Linked DNA regions of Homo sapiens: region 1 is linked to region 2. The links are contacts of gene promoters, found by promoter capture Hi-C in blood cells and fetal thymus (Javierre and others, 2016). All regions are on one chromosome and are shown on one strand. The core of a region is centred on a gene start or on the middle of the fragment in contact, and the rest is flanking DNA. Distances in the headings are between cores, read along the strand shown.

Region 1 (2,700 bases), core at 92-2,591, 250 kb before region 2:
ACTTTTGGAATGATGCCCATTTTGATGTATGACCTGTCCAGGAAACCTCTTGATTTGGTGGCCAGCCCTGATGAGCCTGTCCATGGAAGTGTTCTCCATCTTTCAAGCCCTCTCTATATAAAACAGGAACCTTCTTGTGCCCCTCCGTCTGCTCCCCAGTGGCTCCTGGATGCTTCAGTCCCCCAGGCTCTTCCTGCTGGGGCCACACGTTTAGCAGGCCTACAGGGTTCCTAGTTTCCCAACTCCTAATCGGGGAATTGGCAGATTAGGCTTCATACTGTAGTTTGGATACACATGGAAGCATTTCAAGATGTGATTGGATGAGGAAGATTGGAATGCTGGCCCCAGGGCCTCTGTCAGCTGGCAGCCACCCCAGAGGCCCTGACCCACTCACATGCATAACCCCTGAGAGCTTGTCCTGGGGCTGGTATAGAAGCAGCAGCTTTGTAAAACTCAAAACCATGAAGGCAATTGTAAATCACAATGGAGAAAGGCATAAGAAATGCCTTCAAAATCAAGTGCCCATGCTTTTTTGTAATTGGAACAAACACATCCTTATTCTGAGAGCAACATGTATATATATACACACATGTGTGTGTATATATGCACATATATACACACACATGTGTGTGTATATATGCACATATATACAAGTATATACACGCACATATGTGTGTATATATATACATATATATATATATTTTGGTGAGACAGAGTCTCACTCTGTTGCCCAGGCTGGAGTGTAGTGGCGCCATCTTGGCTTACTACAAGCTCTGCCTACCGGTTTCATGCCATTCTCCTGCCTCAGCCTCCCAAGTACCTGGGACTACAGGCACCCACCACCATGCCTGGCTAATTTTTGTTGTATTTTTTAGTAGAGACGGGGTTTCACCATGTTAGCCAGGATGGTCTCCATCTCCTGACCTCATGATCCGCCAGCCTTGGCCTCCCAAAGTGCTGGGATTACAGGCATGAGCCACTGCACCTGGCCATATATTTTTAATTATATATGTATTTTCTTTTTTTAAAAAATTATACTTTAAGTTCTAGGGTACATGTGCACAATGTGCAAGTTTGATAGGTATACATGTCCCATGTTGGTTTGCTGCACCCATCAACTCATCATTTACATTAGGTATTACTCCTAATGCTATCCCTCCCCCGGCCCCCCACCCCCCGACAGGCCCCAGAGTGTGATGTTCCCCGCCCTGTGTCCAGGTGTTCTCATTGTTCAGTTCCCACCTATGAGTGAGAACATGCAGTATTTGGTTTTCTGTCTTTGTGATAGTTTGCTGAGAATGATGGTTTCTGGCTTCATCCATGTCCCTGCAAAGGACATGAACGCATCCTTTTTTATGGCTGCATAGTATTCCATGGTGTATATGTGCCACATTTTCTTAATCCAGTCTATCATTGATGGACATTTGGGTTGGTTCCAAGTCTTTGCTATTGTGAATAGTGCCACAATAAACATACGTGTGCATGTGTCTTTATAGTAGCATAATTTATAATCCTTTGGGTATATATCCAGTAACGGGATTGCTGGGTGAAATGGTATTTCTAGTTCTAGATCCTTGAGGAATCGCCACACTGTCTTCCACAATGGTTGAACTAATTTACACTCCCACCAACAGTGTAAAAGCATTCCTATTTCTCCACATCCTCTCCAGCATTTGTTGTTTCCTGACTTTTTAATGATCGCCATTCTAATTGGCATGAGATGGTATCTCATTGTGGTTTTGATTTGCATTTCTCTGATGGCCAGTGATGATGAGCATTTTTTCATGTGTTGGATGCATAAATGTCTTCTTTTGAGAAATGTCTGTTCATATCCTTTGCCCACTTTTTGATGGGGTTGTTTGTTTTTTTCTTGTAAATTTGTTTGAGTTCTTTGTAGATTTTGGATATTAGCGCTTTGTCCGATGGGTAGATTGCAAAAATTTTCTCCCAATCTGTAGGTTGCCTGTTCACTCTGATGGTAGTTTCTTTTGCCATGCAGAAGCTCTTTAGTTTAATTAGATCCCATTTGTCTATTTTGGCTTTTGTTGCCATTGCTTTTGGTGTTTTAGTCGTGAAGTCTTTGCCCATGCCTATGTCTTGAATGGTATTGCCTAGGTTTTCTTCTACAGTTTTTATGGTTTTAGGTCTAACATTTAAGTCTTTAATCCATCTTGAATTAATTTTTGTATAAGATGTAAGGAAGGGATCCAGTTTCAGCTTTCTACATATGGCTACCCAGTTTTCCCAGCACCATTTATTAAATAGCGAATCCATTCCCCATTTCTTGTTTTTGTCAGGTTTGTCAAAGATCAGATGGTTGTAGATGCGTGGTGTTATTTCTGAGGCCTCTGTTCTGTTCCATTGGTCTATATATCTGTTTTGGTACCAGTACCATGCTGTTTTGGTTACTGTAGCCTTGTAGTATAGTTTGAACTCAGGTAGCGTGATGCCTCCCGCTTTGTTCTTTTTGCTTAGGATTGTCTTGGCAATGTGGGCTCTTTTTGGTTCCATATGAACTTTAAAGTAGTTTTTTCCAATTCTGTGAAGAAAGTCATTGGTAGCTTGATGGGGATGGCATTGAATCTATAAATTACCTTGGGCAGTATGGCCATTTTAACTATATTGATTCTTCCTATCCGTTAGCATGGAATGTTCTTCCATTTGTTTGTGTCCTCTTTTATTTCATTGAGCAGTGGTTTG
Region 2 (2,700 bases), core at 29-2,528:
TAATCCCAGCACTTTGAGAGGCCAAAACAGGCAGATTACTTGAGGCCAGGAGTTCGAGACCAGCCTGGCCAACATGGCGAAACCCCATCTCTACTAAAAATACAAAAATTAGCTGGCGCGGTGGCATGTACCTGTAATCCCAGCTACTCGGAAGCCTGAGGCAGGAGAATCGCTTGAACCCGGGAAGCAGAGGTTGCAGTGAGCCGAGATCGTGCCACTGCGCTCCAGCCTGGGCAACAGAGCAAGGCTCCATCTCAAAAAGAAAAAGTCTCGGCCAGGTGCGGTGGCTCACGCCTGTAATCCCAGCACTTTGGGAAGCCGAGGAGGGCAGATCATGAGGTCAGGAGATCGAGACCATCCTGGCTAACACGGTGAAACCCCGTCTCTACTAAAAATACAAAAAATTAGCCGGGCATGTGGCGGACACCTGTAGTCCCAGCTACTCAGGAGGCTGAGGCAGGAGAATGGTGTGAACCTGGGAGGCAGAGCTTGCAGTAACTGAGATCACGCCACTGCACTCCAGCCTAGTGACAGAGCGAGACTCCGTCTCAAAAAAAAAAAAGTCTCCCTAGACATTGCAATGTCCCCTAGGGGGCAGAATTCCCCTTACTCGAGAACCCCCTAGTCTAATGCATTTAGCTTATTTCAACCTCAGGGCCTTTGCACGTCCTGTACTTTAGTGCTCTATGCTGCATCTGTTCATGTTGTTCACATTTTAGCTTCAATGCTACCTCCTCCTGAGAGGCTGTCTCTGACCATCCCATTGCGTAGTGACCCCTTAAGTCACTCCCAATGCCATCGCCTTATTTTAATTTTCTGCATGGTACTCACCAACAGCTGATATGTTTCTACATGTTATTGTTTGTCTGTCCCACGAGAAAGTGAATTCCATGAGCCCAAGGATCTTGTCTGGTAAGGCTGGCGTGCCTGGCACATAGTAGGTGCTCAGTAAATTATCATCACAACAGCTTCCTCCACAACTGTTTCTCTTTCTGGACTTCTGTTTGTTGCTGAAGAAGACAGCTGAGCAGGACTGGGCTTCCCCAGTAAGGACAGAGGCCCTTTGCAGTGTCAGCGTTCTGGCTGTCCTGGGGGCTCCAGCCTCTCTTTAGCCTTTGCTGGTAGTTGAACGACCAATTTAGACTCCTCTGGGGAAATAGGTTAGAGAGGACAGTTTCCTGGCCTCGGCGCCACCCGGAAGACAAGCCCCTGGCTATCCTAGTAACTTTCGTCTTAGGTATTTTATGGGTCTCTCCTTGCCCAATTCTCCCAGCAACTGGGATAATGAAAGCGATTGTTTGCACTAGGGCACCAGCTTAGCCGGGCATTCAGCCCAGACTTAGTGGTTAACTATTGTGTGCCAGGCTGATACGGCTCCTCGTAAAAGATGCCATTTGCTGACAGTCTAGGAGGTGCAGTTGGTTGGCATTTGGCATTAGCAGTCCACATTATTACCCCAAGAGACAGACATTATGATCCTGTTTCACAGATGAAGAAAACAAGATGCAGAAAGGTGAAGTCCCTTGCCTGTGACGCTTCACTACTCTGCACTTGAATTTTCTCACTAACTTCCTGTGTTGGTGAGACAATGAAAAGCATTTATATAGAGAGTGAGACTAACACTACACCTACATCACAGGAAGGGCCCGTGAGATGTTAGCCATGATTAATTACCATTAAAACTCCAAGACCGGGCACGGTGGCTCATGCCTGTAATCCCAGCACTTTGGGAGGCCGAGGCAGGCGGATCACCTGAGGTCAGGCATTCAAGACCAGACTGGCCAATATGGTGAGACCCCTATCTCTACTAAAAATAGAAAAATTAGCTGGGCGTGGTGACGCATGCCTGTAATCCCAGCTACTTGGGAGGCTGAGGCACAAGAATTGTTTGAACCTGGGAGTTGGAGGTTGCAATGAGCCGAGATCCTGCCACTGCACTGCAGCCTGGGCGACAGAGCAAGACTTTGTCTCAAAAACTCACAAATCACCCGGGCATGGTGGCTCACGCTAGTAATCCCAGCACTTTGGGAGGCCAAGGCAGGCAGATCACGAGGTCAGGAGATCAAGACCATCCTGGCTAACACGGTGAAACCCCGTCTCTACAAAAAAAACAAAACAAAACAAAACAAAAAATTAGCTGGGCGTGGTGGTTTGCACCTGTAGTCCCAGCTACTCAGGAAGCTGAGGCAGGAGAATGGCATGAACCCGGGAGGTGGAGCTTGCAGTGAGCCGAGATCGCACCACTGCACTCCAGCCTGGGTGACAGAGCGAGACTTTGTCTCAAAAACTCACAAGTCACCCAGGCATGGTGGCTCACGCCAGTAATCCCAGCACTTTGGGAGGCCAAGGCAGGCAGATCACGAGGTCAGGAGATCAAGACCATCCTGGCTAACATGGTGAAACCCTGTCTCTACATAAAAAACAAAAAACAAAAAACAAAAAATTAGCTGGGCGTGGTGGTTTGCACCTGTAGTCCCAGCTACTCAGGAAGCTGAGGCAGGAGAATGGCATGAACCTGGGAGGTGGAGCTTGCAGTGAGCCGAGATTGCGCCACTGCACTCCAGCCTGGGCGACAGAGCAAGCCTCCATCTCAAAGAAAAAGTAATAATAATAGTGTTACTATATTTTCAGGGATAGAAGTTTCAGATACTTGGTCAGGCGCGGTGGCTCATGCCTGTAATCCCAGCACTTTGGGAGGCC

Evidence for each region. Contacts are between HindIII fragments. The CHiCAGO score rates a contact against its expected background, and 5 or more counts as called.
Region 1: a fragment that was not itself captured here is called in contact with the fragment with the promoter of NWD1 in region 2 in 1 of 17 cell types (M2 macrophages); the score reaches 5.9 in M2 macrophages.

What each region holds. Positions count from the first base shown.
Region 1 is chr19:16,965,816-16,968,515 of GRCh38, reverse strand. The region is part of intron 18 of CPAMD8 (C3 and PZP like alpha-2-macroglobulin domain containing 8); the gene reads left to right. Among named protein-coding and RNA genes, the nearest start is that of CPAMD8, 60 kb to the left of the region's middle. The HindIII fragment of the contact is 4,693 bases long and covers 1-2,700 here.
Region 2 is chr19:16,718,425-16,721,124 of GRCh38, reverse strand. NWD1 (NACHT and WD repeat domain containing 1) reads right to left here and starts at 1,278. Exons shown (of 19, transcript NM_001007525.5): 1 at 832-1,278. The HindIII fragment of the contact is 21,822 bases long and covers 1-2,700 here.